Regions from separate parts of the Homo sapiens genome. Here regions 1, 2 and 3 are each linked to region 4. Evidence: promoter capture Hi-C in 16 types of primary human blood cells and fetal thymus (Javierre and others, 2016). All regions are on one chromosome and are shown on one strand. Each heading gives the region's core, a stretch centred on a gene start or on the middle of the fragment in contact. The rest is flanking DNA. Distances are from core to core; before and after follow the strand shown. Region 1 has its middle 2.5 kb from the start of PROKR1. Region 2 has its middle 30 kb from the start of PROKR1. Region 3 has its middle 43 kb from the start of ARHGAP25. Region 4 holds the start of GKN2 (gastrokine 2).

The links. The method cuts DNA at HindIII sites, captures the fragments that hold promoters and counts their contacts. A CHiCAGO score of 5 or more calls a contact.
Region 1: a contact is called between a fragment that was not itself captured here and the fragment with the promoter of GKN2 in region 4, in 5 of 17 cell types (total CD8 T cells, activated CD4 T cells, non-activated CD4 T cells and 2 more). The highest score is 6.3, in total CD8 T cells.
Region 2: a contact is called between a fragment that was not itself captured here and the fragment with the promoter of GKN2 in region 4, in 5 of 17 cell types (activated CD4 T cells, non-activated CD4 T cells, naive CD4 T cells and 2 more). The highest score is 7.4, in activated CD4 T cells.
Region 3: a fragment that was not itself captured here is called in contact with the fragment with the promoter of GKN2 in region 4 in 7 of 17 cell types (activated CD4 T cells, non-activated CD4 T cells, total CD8 T cells and 4 more); the score reaches 11.0 in activated CD4 T cells.

What each region holds. Positions count from the first base shown.
Region 1 is chr2:68,639,758-68,642,457 of GRCh38, forward strand. No RefSeq gene overlaps it. Among named protein-coding and RNA genes, the nearest start is that of PROKR1, 2.5 kb to the right of the region's middle. The HindIII fragment of the contact is 652 bases long and covers 1,102-1,753 here.
Region 2 is chr2:68,671,936-68,674,635 of GRCh38, forward strand. No RefSeq gene overlaps it. Among named protein-coding and RNA genes, the nearest start is that of PROKR1, 30 kb to the left of the region's middle. The HindIII fragment of the contact is 2,230 bases long and covers 336-2,565 here.
Region 3 is chr2:68,690,235-68,692,934 of GRCh38, forward strand. No RefSeq gene overlaps it. Among named protein-coding and RNA genes, the nearest start is that of ARHGAP25, 43 kb to the right of the region's middle. The HindIII fragment of the contact is 3,397 bases long and covers 1-2,700 here.
Region 4 is chr2:68,951,563-68,954,262 of GRCh38, forward strand. It overlaps GKN2 (gastrokine 2), which reads right to left and starts at 1,331. Exons shown (of 6, transcript NM_182536.3): 1 at 1,288-1,331. The coding sequence starts at 1,299. The HindIII fragment of the contact is 766 bases long and covers 1,170-1,935 here.

The DNA.
Region 1 (2,700 bases), core at 178-2,677, 310 kb before region 4:
AGGTTTGTGTTAAGTACACTCTATGATAGTCACACAATGAAATTGCCTAATGATGCATTTCTCAGAACATATCCTCATTGCTAAGTGATGCATGGCTGCATATGTAAAATACACATAACATAAAATTCACCATGTTAACTGTTTAAGTTACAATTCAGTGACATTAATGCATTGACAATGTTGTGCAACCATCACCACTATCCATTGCCAGAACTTTTTCATCATCCCAAACGGAAACTCTGAACCCATCAGATAATAATCTCCTATTCCCCCTCCCCCTCATCCCTTGGTAACAATCATTCTACCTTCTGACTTTATGAATTTGCCTATTTTAGGTATCTTATATATGTGGAATCATTCAATATTTGTTTTTTATGATAGGCTTATTTAATTTAGCATCATGTTTTCAAGATTCACCCATGTTGTAGCATGTGTCAGTACACCATTCCTTTTTTCCCCATTTTCTCATTGTGGTAAAGTGAAAAAAAATATTTACCATTGTAACAGTTTTTACATATACAGTTCAGTGGTATTAAGTACATTCAGATTGTTGTGCAACCATTACCACTCTCCATCTTCATAATTATTTTCATTTTGCAAAACTGAAACTTTGTACCAATTAAACAATAGCTCCCCATTCCTTCTTCCCCAAGACCTAGGCAACCATCATCCTACTTTTTGTCTCTATGAATTTGACTACTCTAGCTACCTCATGTAAGTGGAATCATATAGTATTTGTCTTTTGTGACTGGCTTATTTCACTTAGCACAATGTCTTCAAGGTATATCCGTGTTGTAGCATGTGTCAGAATTTCATTCCATTTGAAGGCTGAATAATATTGCATTCTGTGTATATACGCACACACATACACATGAAGGGGCTTCAAAAATTTGGGGAGCATGCATATTATGAAAAAAGTAAGCATGGATTTCAATTTTTGTTTGCACCCAAATAAACTCGTACTCATTTGTTACAACATGTCTGAACAGGATCTAGTTTGAGTCACTAAGAAGGATAAGATATCAGTTTGAAAAGAGCCCCTCTCAGAGGAACATGAATTCTGAAAAATTGAAGCAACGGCAAACATGAAATTTATGGTGAAGCTTGGGTGGAAGAATGGTGAAATCACTGATACTTTACGAAGAGCTTTTTGTGGGCAATGACCCAAAGATATCAGCGGTTTACAAGTGGATACTCATTTCAGGAAGGGACGAGAGGATGTTGAAGATGAAGTCTGCAGCAGCAGACCATCCACATAATTTGTGAGAAAAAAATTAACCTTATTCATGCCCTAATTGAAGAGGACTGATGATTAACAGCATAAACATAACCAACACCACAGACACCTCAGTTGGTTGAACTTACTCATTTCTGACTGGCAGATTAAAGTTGAGCACACTTTCCACTTGATGGGTGCCAAAATTGTTGTGACCAGATCAGCTGTAGACAAGAATAGAGCTTTCAATGGAAATACGAAACAAGCGGGATCAAGATCATGAAAGATTTCTTTGAAGAACTGTAATAACAGAAAAAACAGGCTTTACAAGTGTGATCCAGAAGACAAAGCACAATCAAAGCAATGGCTACCAAGAGGTGGAAGTGGTTCAGACAAAGCAAAAGCAAACTAATCAAGAGCAAAGGTCATAGCAATAGTTTTTGGGGGATGCTCACAGTATTTTGCATGTGATTTTCTGTAGAGGGCCAAAGAATGAAATATCTGCTTATTATGAGGGTATTTTGAGAAATTAGCCAAAGCTTTAGCAGAAAAAATGCCTGAAAAAGCTCCACCAAAGAGTCCTTCTCCACCATGACAATACTACTGCTCATTCCTCTAATTGAACAAGGGCAATTATTAGCCATCCTTCTTACCATCCTGATTTGGCTCTTTCTGACTTCATTTCCTAATCTTAAAAAGTCTTTAAGGAGCAGCTATTTTTCTTACGTTAATAATGTAAAAAAAAAGGGCTTCATTGACATGGTTAAGTTCCCAGGACCCATGCCAGGCCTGGTGGCTCATGCTTGTAATCCCAGCATTTTGGGAGGCTGAGGTGAGAGGATTGCTTGAGGCCAGGAGTTTGAGACCAGCCTGAGCAACCTAGCCAGACCCTGTTTTAACAAAAAAATAAAAATAAATAAATAAAATAGAAAAATTCCCAGGATCCTTAGTCCTTTAGAGATGGACTAAATGTCTGCCATCATTACAAAAGCATCTTGAACGTGATGGAGCTTATGCTGAGAGCTAAAGTTTATGTATTTTTATCTTTTAATTCCATTTTCCCACAAACTTTTGGAAGTTCCCATGTGAGTGTATGTGTGTATGTGGAGCATTTTGTTTGTCCCTTCATCATTGATGGACATTTGGATTGTTTCCATGTTTTCGCTATGGTGAATAATGCTGCTATGAACATGGATGTACAAACATGCCTTTGAGACCCTGTGTATTAGTTCACTTGCACACTGCTGATAAAGACATACCGGAAACTGGGAACAAAAGGAGGTTTAATTGGACTTACAGTTCCACATGACTGGGGAGGCCTCAGAATCAAGGCAGGAGGTGAAAGGCATTCCTTACGTGGTAGCATCAAGAGGAAACTGAGGGAGAAGCAAAAGTGGAAACCCCTGATAAACCCACAGGATCTCGTCAGGCTTATTCACTATCACGAGAATAGCATGGGAAAAACAGGCTCCCATGATTCAATT
Region 2 (2,700 bases), core at 201-2,700, 280 kb before region 4:
GTAATGAACTAAGCAGTGAGGATGACCAGAGGTCACTTTCATCACCATCTTGGTTTTGGTAGGTTTTGGCTGGTTTCTTTACTGCATCCTGTTTTACCAGCAGGGTCTTTGTGACCTGTATCTTTGGTTGACCTCCTATTTCATCTTGTGACTAGGAATGCCTAACCTCTTGGGAATGCAGGCCAGTAGGTCTCAGCCTTATTTTACCCAGCCCCTATTCAAGATGGAGTGACTCTGGTTCAAATGCCTCTGACAAGATGAAGAAGCCAGCCCTTCAAATATCTGGGAGAACTTTCCGAGCAGTGAACTTGCAAGTCCAGAGTCCCAAGACGGGAAGCTTGGAGAGATGAGGAACAGTAAGACGCTAGTGTGGCTGGAGTAAGGAGGGCATGAGCGGAGCTGACATTGGAGAAGAGGCCACACAGCAGATCACCCAATCCCTCACAGGTCATGGCAGAGTGTAAATTTTTTTCCTAAATGTGAGTGGAGTTTGATGGAGAGTTTTAAACAAGGAATTGACTTGGCTCTAAATTAGGGTTTAAAATTAAGCACTTGGCCCATTGCCATGAAAATTGCTGGGGAAGGCAGGGGAGTGGGCAAAGTTTGGAAGCTGGGAAACCACCTATGACTGGCTTTAATTTCTGGAAGCCTTCCATTCCATCAAGTTTTTCACTTCAGTTTCTATATTTTTAATTGCTAAGACTCTATTAGTGCTCCAAATATTCAATTTTTATAGCATTCTTTTCTTGTATCTTAGATGCAATTTTTTCTCTTATCTTTCAGGGGATATTATTGTTACTTTGTGAACTACTCTGTTCTTTGAATTGTCTCTATTGCTAACAAGTGTGTTGTATTTTATTAATTATTATCATTTTCTAGGCTTAGTGGTTAAGGACATAGACACGAGACAGATTGCCAGCTTAGAATGACAGCTTCTCAGCTTACAGTGTGACCTTGGGCAAGTTACTTAATGTCTCCATGCCTCAGTTCCTTCACTTTTTCCATGGATGTAATAATAGTATTTACTTAAATGGTGATTGTGAAGATTAAGTGTGTAAATATACATAAAGTACTTAGAATAGTACCTAGCTCACAGTATACGCTTAATAAGGGTTAACCCTTATTTTTTCTATTTGCTTTGGTCTGTCTTTTATATTAGATGCTTTCCTCAAGTTGCCTGGTAATTCTTGACTCTTCCTTCATATTTAATAATGAGGTACTGATAGGCTGTCTTGGAGCTCTGGGCATAAAGAGAAGGCTTGTTCACTATGGACATGATACTAGGGTCTGTAGCTGGGCTAGATCTTTTGGGAACAAGATTTATCTTCAATTCTTTTCTCTTGGGCTGGTTATGATTCAGAGAAGGATCTCCTAGTGTCCTTTTTGGGCTCTCTACATTCAGGTTGTCAACTTTAAACTCAATCCCCTATTTTCTGACGGTACCCCTTCCATCAACTGTGTTTTATGGCCCAAATCTTCAACATCTCTGTTTAATCCTCTTCAAAAAATAGCCTTCTGGTTTTATCTGAATAGGTCAGAGCAGATGTCCAGGTCAGTAATGATGGGAAGAGATCTGGAGTCAAAATTTTTTCCAACAGACTTTCTTTTCATCTCCCTGCTTTCAACCTTGTCTTTACCCTCACTTCCAAAGATGCCAAGTCCTACTAATTCCTGGAACTTCGGAGGGTTCAATGGTTCAAACATGGCTGCTTCTCAGCTTTCCTCACTGATTTTGGGGATTTAGCCTTCTTGGACAACTAAGTTCATTTGCTTTCCAGCTTCTAAATTTCATTATCTTATTTCCATTCCTGCTTTCATTTTCTTTGTTAAAAAAAATCTCTTTGCAGTCATTTTCATGAGGTTTAGGAAACATTAGAGACTCACGGGAGTCTTTAATCTGTCATGTGTAACTGAAGGCTGGAGGTTCAGCCCCTAATTTTAAAGGTTTGAGGTTTGAGGTCCAGAAAGGCCGCACAGCTGCTTGGAAATAACATGGAGTGGAGATTGGGGTCTTGATTTGTTGCCAAAAACTTATCCTGCTACTTCACTCTGCCCCTTAGAAGCCTCAGGAGACCTGATTTGATAACGTTGAGCAGGTTTTCTTCTCAATCTCAATGGCCAAGGGCAAAGAGTCTACTCTGGTCCCCAGCCTCGGTAAAGCCCCAGAGAGCAGGTAAAGTTGTGATTCTTCATGGTCTTTGAGTCCTCACCTATGGAGCCATGGTCTGTACTTGGGGGAGCAACTAGACGTTTTAACTTTCCCTCACAGTGGGCTAATGCCCAAGGGAGGCTCTTCATTCTAATAAGTTCTCATAAAAGGGTAAAATTTTCCTGTATTTTTGAATAACACGATGGATATTTTCTCTCAGGAAAATGCAACTAGGTTATGGGACAACATGCAGAAGATAAAGCAATGTATTGAAATATAGGGAGTGAGTTGGGAGGAAATGGCCTCAATGAGAACCTAACTAGGGCCAGGATCAAATGAAGCCAGTTAAGAGGAGAAGAGGAATGTTAGAGCAGGATGGGCCAGAACAAATTATTTGGAAGGTTTTATCTGCTATAAGCTTTTATAATTTTTGGTTGTGAATATCTTAATTATGAAAGAGAAGACTTTGCAAGAATATGTGTCAGAAGGCTTAACTCTTCATTTTGTTGCAATTTAGAAGAATATATGACTACAAGACTTGGCATCTTATC
Region 3 (2,700 bases), core at 71-2,570, 260 kb before region 4:
TGGCGAGAAAGTGCTAGCAGGAAATGAGATAGCTATTACCACCCAGGGCTCTCCTGTTTCTCTCTGCAAGACTCCTTTGGAAATCTTGCATTGCCTTCCCCTTTCTGAGTAATTCCGCGGGGCTTCATTTAGATTGTGCTCATTTGCATTAACTCTCATAACGAAGAGGTGTATTACCAACTGAAATGGAAAAAGGCCTGTGGTTACTTTGTGTCTTCTCTGCTGTCTCTGGTCTCTGGGACCAGAACTCATCCTCAGTACCGAGAGCCAAAGAGGAGCTGACCATGGATTAGATGAAATAAGGTACTGTGTACCTGACACCCAGGAAATAGTCAGTGTTTCTTACCTCCTAGTATTGTTGCAAAATGAAGCAGAATACAGTATATCTTTTGATTCAAAGGTGTCATTAGGCCTTATAACTATTAACCAATTAACAGGTTAATATTTTAGCTTGCACTTTTGCTTTAAAATCTGAATATTGCATGTTAATTTAAAATATGGTTTGTTAGGAGTGTGGTAGGAATATAACTTGTTTGAAATTGACATCAATGTCTAAAATGAAAAACCATGCATCCCAAAACATGGTGATTACCAGCGGAAGGTCAGGAAAACATGCTTCTCTTCTGCAGATGGAGGTACAATGAGGTGTTTGACAGGGGCTTATGTTCCCAACACACCTGGCCTGGACTCTGCATGGAGAAAAAGGTTTGTTCACTAGACTGAGATTTCGAAGGGTAGAGTATTTGTAGAGAGAAGCCAGGTCTCCAGTGTTGCTGGGTTTGGGGAAAGCCTGTAATGGATTCAGGTGTCCAGGTGAGAACAGCTTTCTGACAAATGTGCTGCTGAGGGTGATGTTCTCTCAGCACGTGGCCTGTGAGCTCTCAGTGATGCTCCAGCCAGCAGGAGTACACCAATAAGCCTGACTCTCTGCCAATAGCTGGGGCCAGAGGTCTCGTCCTCATTTTTCACTGGTACCTGGCAGGCAAAATTCCTATCCAGGAGGGAATGGTAGCTCTGGACAGTTGTATAAATATGCTATCAAAATTTGAGAGGCAGAAAGCAAATGACAGGAGGCCAGACCCTCCTTGGAGTCATCAGTCCACTCAAAGTCCCTAGACCCCTTGCTCAATAATTTCACTTTAGTCCACATAATTCCAAGAGGACTAACTAAGGTTTTCATTACAGTGGTCTCTTCTGGCAGTAAGGGTCTGCTCAAATAGCTCTAGTGGACAGAGGCCACAGACATCTGTTAGTGCCAACCTCAGAAAATCCCACTATAAGTTTCTGTTATATTTTTATTTTTTCAATGAAGCTCTTTACCTAGACACAAAGGTGATGGAGAAGTGTTTCCTCCCTATCAAAAAATACTTTGAATTTTTCAAAGAAATTTCATTTTCCTTGAACAATACAGACAAAATCAAATAATGCATAAGCACTCATAATCTCTGACCCTCCCTTTGCCCATAAAGAACATTCTGGAAATTCTAGCATTGTTAACTTGGTACTTCCCTTACACTATCCTATCCTTCCTACCTTCCTTCTCTCTCCTCTATTCTACTCTCCTTGGTGGTCATTTTTATTATTATGAGGTCTAGTTTATTGGACAAGAGGAGAAGTGTTAGCTAGAGAATTTATACTGGAAATGAAAGAAAAATTACAATAAATCTAGGAATGAGATGGAGTCCAGAAGAACCCAGTAGGATAGATTTCAGGGAGTATTAACTTAGGAGTTGAGAATGCAAAAGAGAATAGTCTCAAGTCACTTCCATCTACATGGAAGATATTGAGAAGGGATAAACTAGAAGAGAGGACAAGACATTTGACTATGGGTTGAGTAGGTGAATCCTTAAGAAATGGAATATGGCCGGGCATGGTGGCTCATGCCTGTAATCCTAGCACTTTGGGAGGCTGAGATGGGTGGATCATGAGGTCAAGAGATCGAGACCATCCTGGCTAACATGGTGAAACCCCGTCTCTACTAAAAATACAAAAGATTAGCTGGGTATGGTGGTGGGTGCCTGTAGTCCCAGCTACTCGGGAGGCTGAGGAAGAAGAATGGTGTGAACCTGGGAGGCGGAGCTTGCAGTGAGCTGAGATTGCACCACTGCACTCCAGCCTGGGCAACAGTGCAAGACTCCGTCTCAAAAAAAAAAAAAAAAGAGAGATGGAATGTAGTTGAATTATCTTAAATTGTTTTTAATGACTATTAAGTTGTCTGTTTTTCTTTAAGTCAGGAGGCATTATTTAGAGTTTATGCCACAGAGCAGAGGCAATTATAATATTCATGTTCTTCAAAAATAAAAACAGTGAAGCTATCTTTGCACCTATGCCAAAATCCTGCACTAAGAGAGAAGGTGCACTTCTTCCAATAAACAGATGTGTGACCAGTGCCAGTGTGGGCTGACTTCATCTCATCCTTCCAAATCTCTCATCTTAGGGAGCTGGGTGAATTGACTATTGTAGCTGCTCCTTCCTCCTGCAGTAACACTTCCCTTTTTGCTGCTGACAGTGCTTCAGAGGTACAGTCCTTTTCCAAGAACCACCGCCATGCCATTGCCACTGGTACCTCTCCTCACTCAACTCCTCTCCTGGTGGTGCTTTGAAGATGGCTGGAACTCTAGTCTTTACTCAGCTACTAAAGTTGGCTGTCTTCCAGCAGCCTTCCCAACTCCTGCTGAAAGAAGGAAAAAGGTAGAAAGG
Region 4 (2,700 bases), core at 81-2,580:
GGGGAAGGGGGATATTTTTAAGAACTGTCAGTGGGACTTTCCTACTTCCCTTTCCATCCCACCCTTAATATTTCTCTTCTGGGGACTGGGAGTAGAGCATCTAACAAAGACCTGTGTGCTGATATTCAGCCTTCCATAGGGATACATCTTCTCTTACCACAGACCAGCTCCAGCAACATATGATACTCCCGTATATTCTAGTTAATGAGTCTAAAATAGTGGTTTGAACAAGTAGTCGAAGGACTAAACCACTTTAATGGTATGATTAGAGAGAGCTTGGGGAGTGTCCTCTGCCCCAAAATGATCTCCCTTCCAACACTGTGGTTAATACACCATGGTTATATAATACTTTTGTGCTTCAGGGTTAGGTCTCAATTTGGAAAATCAAGACAGCCCTGAGAGAGGGAGCTCTTTAAGCTGATAGTCTTTAACACTTTAGAAAGAGGTACTTAACATTTTGCTTTCTCCCTTAGCAGCTGAATGAGAATAAAGGACAGAGACTAGGGGAGCGAATTCCATTCTAGGTCAGAACATAGCCCACTGTCCATGGGGCACTGCAATGTGGAACTACGGAGGCTGGGATCAGATGGAGGGGTGGAGTGGCCATAGAAGGAACGTTTTGTCCTAAGGGAGAATTTAGTCATAATGAGAGGACATTGAAGACACTCTGGCTGCTTAAATTTGCCATGATTGCGCCTGCAAGTGGGGATTCAGATGGATAAATTACATTCTAAATCCCACATTTACGGGCTTGGGAAAATCACATTCCTCTGCCTCTCAGTCTCCTTATCTGTAAAACGGGGAGAATACTACTCAACTCATAGGGTTGTTGCAATGAATAGATGAAATTATTCATGTGATATGCTTAGTCTAAGGCTTAGTATGCATTTGAGAAATGAGAGGTACTATTATTACTATTACTGATATTATTTTTAAACTACAGCTTCTCTCTTAGATAGCAAATGTAGTTGTTTTAAATAGCCCAAATTCCCTATGAAGCTCATAATAAAGGATTATTATTAAACATCCTCCAAATCAAAATTATCTAGAGATTTCTTTGTATTTTTGAATTTTCTTTTAAGTAAACATCTCAAAACAGGAAAAGGACAAAAAAAGTCAGACTTATTCAACACTATTTCTGCCAAAGATGTCATTAATTCAATCACAGAAGCTTAGAAGCATGCACAGTATCTGTCTAAGACTCCCAAAATCCATGGCATATTAGATATGAGCATTGTCTGCAAGCAGTCACCACAAGAGTATCAAGAAGCAGAAACAAATACTCACAAGTATTTTCATTTTGCCTGGGAGAGGAAGGTGCTGGAGTAAGTAAAGCTGCCCTGTGCAGCTTCTATCCTTTATATGGGCTTGAAGATGTGGATATCTCTTTTTCAAATGATCACTTTGGAAAAGACCATGTCTATATCTCTGACACACCCTAGCAAACTCCTTTATCAGAATTGAGATCCAACCACATACCTGATATCAATGAAGTTCATTAGTCAGTAATGAAAATTCACCACTTGGTCACTCTGTAAATATTCCCTGCTATTTGTACTATGCTGCACTTGACATTTTAATTTCCACCCTTTAAAAATATTGCATGATGCTTGTTCTATGCATACATTTTATAGCTCTACAAGGACAAACTTCTAACATCTCCTCCTAAAGGAAGAGTGCTTCCTTAAGGCCTGAGTTGGGCCCCAACTCAATGTCTTTTCACCACTGTTCTGCTGGCTGAATTCTTCCACAGAGGGAACGGATATGAGACGGGGTGCCAAGACAGTGGCTGGGGAGGCCTGCTTGGAGAACAAACAGCCTAGGACTTTCTTCGTTCTTCCCTTTAGATTTGGTGTCAATTTCCAGAAATTAATGAGGAACAAGACTCAGAAAGCATTCTCCCCAATTACCAAGTTTAACCAAATTTTTACATTAAGCTTCGCCCAAAACTGCACAAAACTGTAAGTTAGAGACCTCTAGTTATCTTGCAGAGTATTAAGAAATTCTTAGATTGAAAAAAAAAAAAAAGAGAGAGAAAGAGAATAAAGTTTAATTTGTGTAATTTTTTTAACATGACAATTAGAAATGGCTAGTTAGTGTCAGGGTATAATCATGAACTCAGGAAGGGAAATTTAAAAACAAAACAAACAACAACAACAACAAAAACAATAAACTGCGGCTGGGCGCAGTGGCTCATGCCTGTAACCCCGGCAATTTGGGAGGCCAAGGCGGGCAGATCACCTGAGGTCAGAAGTTTGAGACCAGCCTGGACAACATGGTGAAACCCCGTCTCTACTATGGTGAAACCCCGTCTCTACTAAAAGTACAAAAAAATTAGCCAGGCGTGATGGTGCTCGCCTGTAGTCCCAGCTACTCAGGAGGCTGAGGCAGGAGAATTGCTTGAACCCGGGAGGCAGAGGTTGCAGTGAGCCAAGATCATGCCACTGCACTCCAGCCTGGGTGATAGAGCAAGATTCCATCTCAAAACAAAACAAAACAAAAAACCCCAGTAAATTGCAAAATTGTAAAATATTGAGAATCACCACAGTAAACAAAGAGATAACATAAATAATGGCCTTGTTCTATAGCTGAAACAACTTTCTAACTTTAGCAGCTTTAAACAAAAATGGGGTTCTCAAAAAGTAGACATCTGGGCAAGTTAAGGGTTACCTAGTTCACTGGAATCTCCCTACCCTGGCT